Regions from separate parts of the Homo sapiens genome. Here all the other regions are linked to region 1. Evidence: promoter capture Hi-C in 16 types of primary human blood cells and fetal thymus (Javierre and others, 2016). All regions are on one chromosome and are shown on one strand. The core of a region is centred on a gene start or on the middle of the fragment in contact, and the rest is flanking DNA. Distances in the headings are between cores, read along the strand shown.

The links. Contacts are between HindIII fragments. The CHiCAGO score rates a contact against its expected background, and 5 or more counts as called.
Region 2: the fragment with the promoter of SPATA41 here is called in contact with the fragment with the promoter of SELENOS in region 1 in 1 of 17 cell types (non-activated CD4 T cells); the score reaches 5.2 in non-activated CD4 T cells.
Region 3: a fragment that was not itself captured here is called in contact with the fragment with the promoter of SELENOS in region 1 in 5 of 17 cell types (monocytes, M0 macrophages, total B cells and 2 more); the score reaches 6.6 in monocytes.
Region 4: a fragment that was not itself captured here is called in contact with the fragment with the promoter of SELENOS in region 1 in 1 of 17 cell types (endothelial precursors); the score reaches 5.8 in endothelial precursors.

Annotation. Positions count from the first base shown.
Region 1 is chr15:101,275,606-101,279,232 of GRCh38, forward strand. It overlaps SELENOS (selenoprotein S), which reads right to left and starts at 1,880. Exons shown (of 6, transcript NM_018445.6): 1 at 1,737-1,880; 2 at 936-1,070. The coding sequence starts at 1,812. RefSeq lists a silencer at 1,756-2,085. The HindIII fragment of the contact is 1,843 bases long and covers 995-2,837 here.
Region 2 is chr15:100,348,882-100,352,508 of GRCh38, forward strand. It overlaps SPATA41 (spermatogenesis associated 41), which reads right to left and starts at 1,837. Exons shown (of 2, transcript NR_028139.1): 1 at 1-1,837. LOC105371021 (a long non-coding RNA gene) reads left to right here and starts at 725. Exons shown (of 3, transcript XR_007064777.1): 1 at 725-801; 2 at 1,494-2,064; 3 at 2,798-3,263. RefSeq lists an enhancer at 1,005-1,264. The HindIII fragment of the contact is 2,620 bases long and covers 1-2,157 here.
Region 3 is chr15:100,614,455-100,618,081 of GRCh38, forward strand. All of the region lies in intron 4 of ASB7 (ankyrin repeat and SOCS box containing 7), which reads left to right. Among named protein-coding and RNA genes, the nearest start is that of ASB7, 14 kb to the left of the region's middle. The HindIII fragment of the contact is 2,908 bases long and covers 411-3,318 here.
Region 4 is chr15:100,645,363-100,648,989 of GRCh38, forward strand. It overlaps ASB7 (ankyrin repeat and SOCS box containing 7), which reads left to right. Exons shown (of 6, transcript NM_198243.3): 6 at 2,961-3,627. The coding sequence ends at 3,100. It also overlaps the pseudogene WDR12P2. Among named protein-coding and RNA genes, the nearest start is that of ASB7, 45 kb to the left of the region's middle. The HindIII fragment of the contact is 640 bases long and covers 1,630-2,269 here.

The DNA.
Region 1 (3,627 bases), core at 630-3,129:
ATTTCTGAGTTCCCCTGAGCAATTCCGATTCATAAAGCCTGGGATAGTGGCCACACAGAGCACATCTTGGATACCTCAGTGACACCCACAGTCTCTAGGCTGACTAGAATCCTGGAAGACTACCAAGGAAATATAAAGTTTTCTAAATCATTATCCATCCCTTAATTAGCGCAGAAGATTCTTAAGTATTTGTTTCTACAGAAAAGAAAAATCCTTCCAAATAGCATTATGAATAGAAATGAACTCATTTCTATTCATAACGTCTACTCATAGAGTCTCGCTCTTTGCAACAAGGCTAGACTCCATCTCATAGAAAAAAAAAAAAAAAAGAAAGAAAAGACAGTCTCACTCTGTTGCCCAGGCTGGAGTGCAGTGGCACAATCTCAGCTCACTGCAATCTCCAGCTCCCAGGTTCAAGCGATTTCTCCTGCCTCAGCCACCCTAATAGCTGGGATTACAGGTGCCCGTCACCACGCCCCACTAATATTTGTATTTTTAGTAGAGACAGGGTTTCACCATGTTGGCCAGGCTGTTCTCGAACCCCTGACCTCAAGTCATCCTCCTGCCTCGGCTTCCCAAAGTGCTGGGATTACAGGTGTGAGCCACCGCGCCCCACCGAGAACCATATACTTCCTACTTTTTTTTTTTTTTTTTTTTTAAAGACAAGGTCTCAATCAATTGCCCAGGCTGGAGTGTAGTGTGGCCCGAGCATAGCCCACTGCAGCTTTGACTCCCTGGACTCAAGTGATTATCCCGCCTCAGCCTCCTGAGCAGCTGGGACTACAGGTGCGTGCCGCCACTCCCGGCTATTTTTTTTTTTTTTAAATAGAGACAGGGTCTTCCTGTGTGGCCCCTCTTACTTTTACTAAGAGACTAACTCTTAATATAAAGGAGGTGCAAAACCACCGCTTTCATTTCGGTTATCAGGCACTAACCCACAGCAGCCGCAGCTCGGTCCAGCTGCCTCTGCCTCAAGGCTCTTAGCCGGGCGGAAAGCTTCTGAAAGACCACGTAGAGAAGGATGCAGCTGAAGACGATGTACCAGCCATAGGTGGCCAGCAGGGAGCCCACTGAAAAGAAAAACAGTTTTCAAAAAACTAAAAATGACACTACTAGTTGACCTTTCCATAAGACTCAACAAACACAAAGTGTAACTCCTGCCCTCAAAGCCTTCATGGTCTAGGCTGAGGAAAAAGCCTCCTAAGTAGATCGTTAAAACACGAACTCAAGAAGTGCGACAATTCAGGGATCACTGAGAAGTGAGACTTCCCAACCATCTGGGGAGTCGGGGGCAGTTAGAGTGTGGAGGGCACAGCAACTGGGTTTTGAAGAATGAAGAGCAACTAATCTGAATCAGGAAGGCAAAGGCCTTTCAGAGCCACATAGAAAGGGGTGACAGCGCGGGGAGTCAGGAGTGTGTATGGGGCTGTGTGGGACGGGTCCCAGAGGCAAACGCCAACGGCCGAGTGACCCCAGTAACTACCACAGGAAGGGCTTGGTTCGCAAAAAAGACTTGCGCAAACAAGGGACAGCCGAGCCGCCCAGGGAAGTGCGGCTCCCGAGAAGCCTCCGCGCAAGGTCCGGGCCTGCTGCCCAAGGTCCGCGTAAGCGCCAACGCCCGACCGTTCCCAGGCCTCCCAGGCTCCGGCGCCCGGTGCAGCGGCGGACGACCCACCCATCATGGCTGCGCGTCGCAAAAGTGGCGGCGCGCGCCCGGCTGCCCCGCAACGACTCACCCGTGGTGTGCAGGAAGCGCAGCCCCTCGGTCTCCAGGGCCGGCCGCGCGGACAGAGACTCCTCTTGGCGTTCCATGACCGCCGCCGCCGCCGCCGCCCAGCCCTGCCGCCGCGCCTCCAGCCGGGCGCTTCCGGTGCGCTCCTACGCACACGTGGCGCGCCCGGACGCGGTCGTGGTCCCGGCCAATCGCAGGCCGACCCCGCCCCGTCGCTGGGCCAAACGCAGGGGGGCGTGGCCGAGGGGCGTGGCGGGGGAGAAATCCCGGCTACGCTCGCCGGGGCCGGGACAGCGCGTGTGGGAACGTTCTGTGCTATCTCTTGGCTTGAGTCGGGGGTGGAGGACGGACCTCGTTCACGGATTTCTTACCGAATTTCTACTTTCTTTTTTTTTTCTAATTGGACACTGAAGCCAAGGAAGTCAGTGGTCGCCCGGAAGCAGGATTTGCACCCACATCCTTGCCCGGGGCACATTGGACAACAGGGCTCAGTTGGTTGACGACTCCCAGCATTTGAGGGTTGCAGCCAACGTCCACCCCAAGTGAAGACACGAAATGTGAGCAGCCTCCTGCTCCTGCTGCTGGTGATACCTTTCAGGCCAAGAAAGTCCCCACCGATCCTCAAGGTTCTTTCTCCAAAATCAAAGCCTTTTAGGAAAGAACGATCATAGTAACTGCTCTAACCTGTGTTGAATTATACTGTATCACCACAAGACACGATCACAGAGTTACTTATAATAGTGTCCTGGCTGTGTTCCTCTGCCTGCAACGCCGTCCCGCACCCTCTTCCACCACTCAAACGTCACCACCTTTATGGTGACCATAACCATCCTATTTGAAATGTGACCTTGGGTTTTTCTGGAGCATTTGAAGTGCACATACCTAGCTGTGTTTCAAAAGAAGGGTTGGGAATTGGGAATAGAACTGAAAAAATAATGAATAGGTGACAACATCCGAGTGCTGCGTCACCACTGTCGCCAGGAGCAGTGTGGGGAAGGCAAACCATGACATGAAGCGTGAACGCAATCAGTGTTTCTTCAATGCAGGTTTGCCAAGAAGTTCCTCAAGGGGGACAGCTGCAGGGATTTGAGCACTGACCTCATCAAGCTTTCCCAGCAGTGTGTTCAGAAAGCAATAAAGGGGACCTGGCATTCATGAGCCATAGCAAAGAGAAGCCTGAAAGCTCTTCTTCCCTGTTGGCCACCTTGAAAATGGACTCCTCAGATGAACCGAGGACTCTGGATGTTATCCATAAAGGCTGTGAAGATAGCTTATCGATTTAATGAGGAATTTTAGGAGGGAGAATTTCCTTCTTCATGTTTGCCTTTCCGTTGTAAAAGGTGATGAACCATCACCACTCTTTGCTTTGCTACAGATGATTTCTCACTTGCTCTGGCATCTTGCAGGAACATTTATGTGCTAAATTGAATGACTTCTATGGAATTAGTTGCAATTCTCAGTCCCAGATTAGCTTTAAATCCGCCTTACATCTAAATACTGATAAACTAGACAGGATGAGCAGGGTTGCCTCAACTATTTTGTTAGGCTGTGAAGGACATTAGGTATACCGTACTGGGGTCATAGTTCATGGAAAAAAATGGTTAGGGCCTCACTTTTCTCTCAGGAAACTCATACCAAAACAGTTTCAATCAATGCTTGGGAGCAGTTTTATTTTTATACAGTAACTTAACAGGATGGTTTAACACAAGAGTTCCCCATCTTGACAAGGTGTCAGATGAAGACTTGAGAGCTTCAAGAATGTTGCAGTGGGCCAGGAGTGGTGGCTCTTGCCTGTAATCCTATTGCACTTTAGGAGGCTGAGGCAGGAGGATCACTTGAGGCCAGGAGTTCAAGACCAGCCTGGGCAACACAGCAAGATCCCATCTCTACAAAAA
Region 2 (3,627 bases), core at 587-3,086, 930 kb before region 1:
AATGTGAATGTACTTAATGCCACTGAACTTACAAATGATTGAAATGGTAATTTTACGTTATAGTACATTTTACTACAGTAAAAAATGTTTTAAAAAAGAAATCATTACTCTCTTGCTAAGATCTTGTTTCATCTTAACACACACGAGATGCCTTGTCTTCATTTCGTGGACAGGCAAGGCCGAATTCCGTTTCACAGATAGAGGACTGAGATCTGGAGGCAGAGGGCAGGAATTAAAAACAAGACAAACAAGAGCCTTATACAGGCAGTGTCTTTCTGAGTCTGATCCCTGTTGTCTTGAGAGCTGCGGTGAGGGAAAGTCGTCTTCAGAGCCCTCAGGGTCAAAGCAGTTTGTTACCCTTGAGATAGACAAAGCTCCTAACCTCTCCAGCTTTTTGCCGACAGCTCGATTCTGATGGGCACTGACCTTTTCCGACCCTGTTTTCAGGAGCCGACTCCTGGCAGGTTGGTTGTAGGGGCCCTCTTGAGTGCTTCACACACAGCAGTCCTGTTGGGGTGAAGGTCACCGTCACTGTGATAATTGTTGTCGTCGTTGAAACCACCCAGCCCGAAAGCAGCATGGGCTGTGCCCAGAGCCGCCGTGCCAGAAGCCCACGCTTAGAAATAGAGGGCCGAAGACCAAAGAGGACTGCGGGTTCTTGGGCCAAACGTGACCCTCTCAAATCCCCCAACTCGGGGATTTCGTTAGCTGGGGACTGGTGTGCCCGGGTTCCAAGACCCCTGCGTAGACTCTGTCTATAGGTGGAAGAAGGCCTTTGCCCCGAGGCATCCAGAGGTAACGGTGAGAGGAACAAGGGCACGTGGGGGATCCCACCACAGCCTCCCCTGAGACCCTCTTCACGCTGGTTGCAGGAGTAGCCAACCCCGCTCCCTGGCAGCCCGTGAGATGCCACATCCCCTCCAGCAGGGGGCGGCCGGCATCGGTCCCGTCTTCCTAAACCGGCGTTGGTGGGAAATGCCGGCACCAGCTCCCTCCCCGCTCCAGAGCCCTGTTTTCCCCATTTGTATTTCACTACTTTCCTGTTGAGCTTGGATTCCAGCCTCAAATTCCGCGATTTGGCCGGCATCCTAATCCCCGAGTGACTCTTGCCAACCACTCTCTGTGGGGCCTGTGTGCTTCCTCCTGGGTTCTGGGGCGCTGGCGGCGTCCGCTTCACCGGGAACGGGAGCCCCAGCCTCCCGAGGCCTTCCTGCCTGGCTCTGGGAATGGCCACTGTCCAGAAAGCCCCGCGGCCGTCCATGCTCGCTCGCTCAGTCAGGCCCTTGTGGGGATATTGCAGAACGAGTCCGAGTTACTATCCCTTTAAATACAGGCGTTTCGGCCTAGCTGCCGCCGGTCCAATCCGCAGCGCTTCCGTGCCCCACTTTCCCGCGTCAGCCTGGCTCCGGCCTCCACCAGGGGGTGCTAGTGAGATCCCAGCCAGCCTCAGAGCTGAGCGTCCAGGGCCTTCAAATGTCCCCATCCTTGAAAAGGCAACTCCAGTGGCATCTTCTGCGGGGAGACCAGAAGCAGCATCTGACGAGGAGACAGCACTGGCGGTCCCGACACAACTGAATCGGCAGGATGAGGGCCCTTAGTGTTAGGCACCGGCGGAGCTGCATCCCACCCCGTCTCGTCCCCTGAGAACAGCTGTGAGAAGCCGCCTATTTTTCATCGTTCTGCAACACACCTTTCCCTTCCTTGGGATATTTCTCCTCTTTCAGCATTGCCGCATCAGGGTTCCAAAGCCCCGTTTCTCTCCTAGTTCTTTCTTTGCTCAAGAAAAGCAGCTTGTCTGATAAACTAAGCTATGTATGATTCGCTGCCAGTACAGACTGAAAAACAAAATAAACTCCCAATTCACAGTCCTCCGTTGCGTAACAGTGAGCAGACGTTCTGAGAAATGCATCGTCAGGCAATTGCATCATTGTGCAAACAATATAGAGTGTACTTACCCAAACCTAAACAGCACAGCCTACTACACACCCAGGCTGTAGGCTGTGCTTCTAGACTACAAACCTGTACAGTGTGGTACTGAACACTGTAGGCAACTGTAACACAATGGTAAGTATTTGTGTATCTAAACATAGAAAAGATACAGTAAAAATATGGTATGAAAGATTGAAACTGGTGCACCTGCCTAGGGCACCTACCGTAAGCTTGGAGCTTACGGGACTGAAAGTTGCTCTGGGTGAGTCAGTAAGTGAGTGGTGAGTAAATACGAAGGCCTAGGACATTACTGTACACTACTGTAGACTTTAAAACCCTGTACACTAGGCCCACACTCAATTTATTTTTAAAAATTTTCTTTCCTTCAATAATATATTCACTTTAGCTTACTGTAACTTTTCTACCTTAAGAATTTTTAAATTTTTTGACTCTTTTAATAACAGCTTGAATACACAAACACATTGTACAGCTATACAAAAATATTTTCATTCTTCATATCCTTATTCTATAAGCTTTTTTCCTACTTTTGAAGTTGTTTATTTTTTACATTTTAAACTTTTTGTCAAATATTAAGACACAAACACACATTAGCCTAGGCCTATACAGGGTCAGGATCATCAATACCACTGTCTTCTGCTTTCACATCTTGTCCCACTGGAAGGTCTTCAATGGTAATAACACACATTCTTAGTAAATGCAAATAGTCATGGCTCAGACTGATATAGTAATGATAGACTATTCAATATGTGGTATTGGACAGCTGTTTATATATTTGTACGAACCTAAGTTAGATTCTGTGGTGGTTCAAAAATATATCCTCTAATTATGACCTGCTTCCCTTCAACAGGTGTACCTAATTCCTCTGCCTAGAAAGTGTGCTGGAATTACTGCCTGGCTTCTGATGAATAGGGCGTATTGAGAGTGATGCTTTGTGAGTTCTGAGGCTAGGTCATAGAAAGGATTGAACTTATTCCTGAATGTTGCTCTTGGATCACTTGCTTTTTTGGGAACCACCAGCCATGTCATGAGGACACTCAAGCAACCCTGCAGAGAAGCACATGTGTGGAGAGGCACTTCTTGGAAAGGAGGCCAACTTGCCAGAACCAACTAATTTGTCATGTGAGTGAGTCATTTTGGAAGCAGATCCTCTACCCTCAGTCAGGCCTTCCGATGATTTCAGCCCCCAGCCTTTGAGTCTGCCCCAAACACCATGAGTAGAGACAAGCCCTTCCCACTGTGTCCACCCTGGCTGAATTCCAGACCGTTAAAAAAACAAGAGAAAATAAATTATTATTAGTGTTTTGAGTCACTAAGTTTTGGACTAATTTGTTATGCAGCAATAGCTAACAACTACAGAGTCATAACACAAACTAAAATTAATTCTAAGGCATGTTAAAGATTTATATGAAAGCATTCATCTAATGGAGGTGTGCAAGAAGTGGCTATAAAAAATTTAGGGCACCCAAAAGCAACCTGTAGGCTGAGCAGGGTAAGTACATCTGCAAGAGCAGCCAGATGGCTAGTTGGTCCCTGTGTGCAGCCTCTCTACCCACCCATGGTATAGGTCCAGGAATGGAACTGTTTAGCTTCCCTAGGAAACAATGAATGTGGTGCTTGCATTGTGTTGCTGACACCATCAGAGAGGAAATGGAAGTCCCAGTGTCCAGAAGCTAAACA
Region 3 (3,627 bases), core at 615-3,114, 660 kb before region 1:
GATAGTAAACATGAGAGGCTTTGTGTGCCGTACTGGCTTTGTAACTACCCAGCTCTGCAGTCGGAGCCTGGAAGCAGCCACAGATAGTATGTAAACTAATGGGTGTGGCTGTGTTCCAGTAAAACTTTATCAAAACCAATGGTGGGGGGAAAAAAAGAAAAAACCAGTGAGGGGCTTAGAGGCTGTAGCAGGGGCATCCAGTCTTTTGGCTTCCCTGGGCCACACTGGAAGAAGAATTGTCTTGGGCCATGAATAAAATGCACTAACACTTAACAACAGCTGATGAGCAAAAAAAAAAAAAAAAAAAGCAAAAAAGTCTTATAATATTTTAAGAAAGTTTATGAATTTGTGTTAGGCTGTATTCAAAGCTGTCCTGGGCTGCATGCCCACCGTGGGCTGCAGGTTGGACAAGCTTGGGCTATAGTTTCTGAATCTTTCTCTCTGTATATATGTATGTATCTAGTTACGTGCAGCATAAGGACATTTTGCTCAATCATGGACCCCATTTACAATGGTGGTCCCATAAAATTATAATACCATGTTTTACTGTACCTTTTCTATGGTTAGGTACACAAATGCCATTGTATTACAGTTGCCTCCAGTATTCAGTACAGTAACATGCTGTACAGGCTTGTGGCCTAAGAACAGTAAGCTATATATAACCTGGGTGTGTAGTACGCTGTGCCGTCTAGGTTTGTGTGAGTGCATTTTATGGTGTTCACACAAGAGCGAAATCACCTAACAACCTAGTCCTCAGAATGTATCCCTGTTGTTAAGTAGTATATATGACTGTATATCTATATATATTTTAATAGCTTTATTGAGATGTAATTCACATGCCACAGAATTCACTCATTTAAAGTGTACAGTTAATGGCTTTCGGCATATTCATGGAGTTGGATATTCATCAGCAAAGTCAATTTTAAAACATTGTCATTACCCCCAAAGAAACCTTCTGTTGGTTCTATTAATACATATTGATTCACTCTTCTTTTCAGCTGCTGAATATAGTATTGATAGGTATGGATATACTATCATTTGTTTATTCTCTTTTATTTTTTGAGAATGGCTGGAATTTTCACAGCAGGAGATTTTGTTTTTTGAAAAGGTAGTGCATACATACATGGTTAAAAAGCCACTTAAAGCTGATCAGTGAGGGCAAGTCTCTAACTTTTAGCCCCAGTCCTTTACTCTTCTTCTAGAGGCCATCTCTTTCACCGGTTTCTTTTGTACCATCCAGAGATAGTCTATGCATGTAGGCAGAAATATTTTTCCGTTTTCTACCTTGTAGCCAGCTCCCTTTTTAAAATGTTCTGTTCCTCCTCTTGATTTTTTCACATAACAGTTAATTTCGTGATAGTTCCTTATCTGCATAGGACTCTGTCTCAGATTCCATCGTATGGATGTAATTTATTTACACTTCTTATTGTTGGACATTGTAAGTTTTCATTTTTCTGCTACTAGAAACATTACAGAGAATGTCCTTGAATGATCGTGTTACATTATGTGAGAGTTTATTTCTTGACTAACTCCTAGAAGTGCATTTGCCAAGTCAAAACATTTTTTATGGATATTGGCAAGTTGTCCTCCGAAGAGATTGTCATCATTTTATGTCCTTACTGACCGGGCAGGATAGTGCCTGTTCACCTGCCTTTGCTAGTGATGTACTTACCAGATGGTTTTTCTCTTTCCTGGTGTGATATACCTGCCTCTCTTTTTCTTTTTTTTTCTTGGAAAAAATGACATATGAGTAACAAACATTGCAAGACTGGGCTTTTTGTCTTACTGATTTGTTGGAATTGTTTATATATTCTCCTTTGTTAGATTTTGCAATGTTTTCTCTCTTTCTGTAGTTTTTTCACATTCTTGTTTTTGTTGTCGGGCAGAAGTCTACATTTCAATGTAGGTGAATTATGGTTTTCTTTAGCCTTATCGTTTGTGCCCTTGGTGTCTTGTTTAGGAAGTATACTGCAGGGTCATTATTTGCCTTTGTTTTCTTCTAAAATGTTTTATGGTATTTAGCTTTTTAATCTGTTCAGAATTGGCTTTGGTGTATATGAGGTAGCCTGGTACAGTTTCACTTTTTTCCCATAAAGACAGCCTAAATCATGCCTTCTTTCTTCATTACTGTGCACTAGGTCAGATATAAGGTTTTCATATATGTGTGGTTCCATTTCTGAGTTTTTATTTAAAACAACAAATATTTTGGATAAGCCCTGTATTTGTTTTTATGTAGCACCTTTTACCTGATACCCTTTCCCTAGTAGAATAAGAGATTCAGAAAGTGTTTCACCCAGTGTATTATGAACCAACTTAGAAAAATTAGTAGAAGCAAACACCTACTGCCCACTTGCTTATGGCCACCTGTGGTGCTTAGGCATGCTCTGTATTTAGTGTAGTCCTGGCTTATGACCTCTAGATCAGTGTAGCCAACTATGTGTTTAATGTCTGCACTCTCATGGCTCATAGACATCGCCAGCACAGCACAAGCTGTGTCCATTCTCACCACGGTGTTCATTCTAGTAAGTGTCACCACAGCCTCTGATTGCCATGCCAGAAATCTAGAAACCATCCTTGGTACCTTTTCCTTACCTCTAATATGACTGATTGCTAAGTCTTATTGATTCTGCCTCCTAAAAAGTTGTCAGAGCTTTTCACTTCCTTTCCCTGGAGATGCCACCCCATTTTTGGGCCAGGAAACATTCCTCACCAGGACTGCTACAGTGGTCTCTTCCATCCCTGCCTCCAGTCTTGCCCCCTCCCAACCAGTCTCCAAATAATGTGACCTGTTAAAATGGAAATAAAAATATTTCCTTTTAAAAATCCATAATTGGTTTCCCATTTCTCTTAGGATGATATTCAAAGTTTATAGTGTGATCCACATGGTGCTGCAGTGCCTGGCCCCTCTTACCTTTCCAGCTGCAGCTTTGAGCCACAGCCCCTCTGCATTCTTTCAGAGTCACTGAGTGCAAAGGTTTTGGCCTGGGACCCTCTTGGGTCACGCTTCTGCTCTCTCCCCACCCCTGCCCCATCACCTTGCTCTGCCTGCTTCTCTCTCAGCTCTCACTGATCGTTTTCTCAGGGAAACCTCTTACCAGCCAGACCGGGTCACCCGGGATCCTTGTATATATCCAGACCAGGTTACCTAGGATCCTTGTATATATCCCTGCTATGTGATACTGTTGTTCCCTGTGTGATGTTATCCCTCTGTTATATGATATTATTGTTCCCTGTACTTTTTTATTATTACAGCTATCATAAGCGTAATGAATTGTTTTATAGTTCTTTATTTTATGTCTATATCTCTGATTCATCTAAAGCTTCTTGAGGGTAGAACCCATATCTGTTTTGCTTCCGTCAAGAAAGAAAGCGAAAACTAACACCAGTTATCTAAAGTAATTGTTCCTCAGTTTTACAGAGACAAGACCAATCTTTTCTTTTATCAAAAAATACTGGAAATGGGCCGCGTTATGGTGGGATTATAAAGTTGCTTGAATGCATCATGCCTCCCCCCACCCCCCACGGGGTCTCCCTGTGTCACCCAGGCTGCAGTGCAGTGGCACAGTCATAGCTCATCACAGCCTCTACCTCCTGGGCTCAAGCAGTCCTCCCACCTCAGCCGTACCT
Region 4 (3,627 bases), core at 700-3,199, 630 kb before region 1:
GATTCTCTACCAATTTTCATTTATAGAAAGAATCTCTATAATCAAATTATCATTCGAGTTCATGCCCCCCGGAATATCTGTAGGAATACAGTTTATTATCTGCTCCTCCACTCGGAAGGAGCCCTGTGTCTGTCTAGTCTGCTCTCAGAACTTTCTCTTCATGAGCAGCCACATCATAGAGAGGAGCCTTACAACTTCTTGAATCCCACAGCTTGACGGTGTTATATAAGGATCCTGAAATCTGCTGTGGTTCATGGGTAGGAGACCGTTTTACTGATGTCTCCCAACCTGTATGTGAGGTTAGGGACGGCAACACGAAAGAACCATCTTTAGTTTGGGGATCCCACAGTCTGATATGCCTATCTGTGCTTCCAGATGCTAAACATTTACAAAGTGGAGAATAGGAAATACAATTAAACACTTTATTTCCTGTAAAGTTGACTTAAGATTGCCAAACGCGACATCCCACACGCTAATTTCATGGTCCCAAGATACGCTGCAGATTTCTTCAGCATCTGACCACAGCACTGAGGAGATTGCTTCCTTGTGGCCAGAGAAGGTCACTATGGGAGTCCTTGTTAGTCCCAACTGCTCTGTTTTCTGTTTCTTTCTTGGTCAGTTTGTGGATTCCTCCATTTCATCTTCTTCTGTAGGGACAGTAGACCAGATCCTTAGCATCTTATCTCAGGAGCCACTGCAAAATTTAGTTCCTGAGCTATCAATAGCTGTGGAATCTACACTTGGGCAGCAGCATAGGGTTTTCACTTTGTTTCTCTGGACATTCCACTCCCATAAGAGAATAGTCTGATCCATAGAGCCACTCAATAGTAACACAAACTGTCTTTTGTCACCCAGGCCACATCTGTTAACAATATCCATGTGTCCCACAATTGTCAATGTTGACTTTCCTTCCAAGGACCAGATTCGAGAAGTCTCATCATAAGAACCAGTCAAGATCCATACCTCTGTCCCTTGAATTGAACTGGTCCACTCATCAAGGACACTTCATTCTGGTTGGGGTGCGGTGTACTTCTCCGCGTATTCTCTTTCCACAACTTCTTTTAAGGAGGTGTTCTCCCGTTCCATGTGTTTGACCAAGGGCATTCACAGAAACTGACCCTTAATAAGGAAATCAAACTCCACATATTTGTGGAACTCATTTCTGCCCTTTAGTAATTAATTGATGATGTTACTAAGGTCAACACTTTAAGAGACAGCAGGGATTGAGAAGGCAACATCATTGATGGCCTATTTCTTGTGATCAGTGTAGAAGCTTGTTTGCAGCTGAGCCATGTCAGGGAGTGTACACGACTTGCCCACAGTTATGGGTTAGTAGGCTGAGAACGGGAGCTCCTGTCTCTTAGGACTACAAAGAGACAGCTCAAAATTACACTGCACAGGTAAGCGAGAAGTTGCGGTGTAATCCCGGACTCTGTTTTCTCTCCATGGGTCTCCTCCTGATTTTCATAATAACACTGAGACATGATTTGCCTTTCTCTCATTCCTTTTATCATGAGTGTCAGTTTTTTCCAGAGACGAGGTGGTGTGATTGATGTGACTTATCTCAACAGATTGAATTCAGAAGCATATATGAAAATTCAGCTATCATCTATTAAACCATACATTAAAAGCTTTGCAAAAATGTGAAAGAATGACGTTCTTGTTAAATTTTTTTTTGGTTTTGGAAAATATAGTTACTTTTCATAATGATGTGTTATTTATGTTAACATGTAATGGTTTATTAGAATGAATTTAAAAGTATTTCTAAAATGTCTGTTTTAACTTATAATATGGCATTTACTATAGAGATAGCCCACATAAAAGTTTCTGGGGGTTCGCAATAATTTTTTAAAGTGTAAAGGAGTTTTGAAAACAAAAAGTTTGAGAATGACTGAAAAATGGCATTCAACTTGACTTTAAGCATGTTACTTAATCTCTCTGAGACTCTATAAAATGGGGATGATGATCAAAGTACTTCCCTCGTAAAAGGATGAAAGGAGTTAATACATGTCATGAGCTCTTAACAATACATGGCGCAGAGTAAGTATTCAATATATATTAGCTTTATTATCATGTTTAATATGAAAGCAAAACTTCCTTGACTCCAAACACTACTGAAGCACAGTTGAAGAATTCTTCCTTGTTTTTGGAGCCATCTGTATTGTTTTTGTAAAACAAAATATTCCAAAGGGAAAGAAATAGGATTTTGTGATTTTTCTTTTGAATTGAGATATAACGGGTTTTTATTGGCAAGTGATCAGGGTGTGGAAGCTTGAAGCGATGTAGATTCAGAATACCTTGAGGCGCTTTTTCACACCCCCTTCTGCTGCACTCCTCAACTGTCAGCCTTACAACCAAGGTTCTGCTGTGTTCAGAATCACGGAAAACAGGTGAGCAGATCTGGAAAGCTTGTTTGGAAAGCTCCACAGAGACCGTGGTGGGTGTCCGGGCTCCAGTGTCCTAGACCCAGAGCTGAAAGGGAGGCTCACAATAGGGGACATCTCTTTCAGTCCCCACACTTTTCAGATTGAGAAGCCAAGGCTCAGAGGAATGATTGGCTCACAGTGGCTCACCCAGCGTGAGAGAGACCTAGTCAGGACGAGAACCAGAATTTTCCTGATTTATAACAGAAAGGATATGAGGCTTAGAATCAAAACTGTTTTTGGTCTCAGTTGAAAGCCTTAATTGGTTGTCTGATATTAAGCAACTTGTTTACATCTGATACTCAGTTTTCTTATTGGTAAAATGGAGTTGAAAATATCCACCATCCCACGGTTGTGAAAAGGATCAAATAAGGCATCGCATGAAGGTCCTAGGACACTTTGAGTTGGTATCTTTCCGGTCCTTTGCATGTCAAGTCCATAGAGAGAACTTCCAGGGAAATGAACAGTTCTTTTCAAAAGTGCCTTAAATATTGTGCTTTGTGGCTTTGTAACATTTTCTTTTTTCTGTCTTTTTAGGACAGCCCAGAAACTTGCAGGACCTGTGCCGAATTAAAATTCGACAATGTATAGGCCTTCAAAACCTAAAGCTACTTGATGAACTACCAATTGCCAAGGTCATGAAAGACTACTTAAAACACAAATTTGATGATATCTGATATGCCAGAACTGTGAGCAAGATTAGGAGTTCTATTCTAGATACTTAAAAGGCTTTTTGCCTTGCACAAAGTATATCCTATGCAATTTCTGATTTGCTGTGAAATCAGAAAGCAGGTATACACTTTTGGGTTTTCTGTTTGTTTGGTTGGTTTTCATTGTAGGGGAGGGATTTTTTATATATATATAAAAACACACACCACATGCTTGAAGGTCTTAATTTGGTTTCTTGGTCCAAGTTTAAGAGGTCCAAGCTTTGTATACAATACTGCATTTAGAAAAATTGTCTTTTCTTAAATGACACAAGCAGGTTTAGAGTGGAGAATTTACCCTTTCCAAATTTATGGTTCCTTGGTAAGCACGGTATTCTAAACCAGCAGAGCACTTGTTAACGTTTGGAGGCACAGTTTCACCCAGGGCGACCCTGGGTTCTTTTGGAAAATGCCCTAAGAAATGTTTGAAGTAACGCTGTCACCTCATTCATTTTTAATGAGTACAAACTGGCCGTTTCAAACTGTTCTTTTTCCTA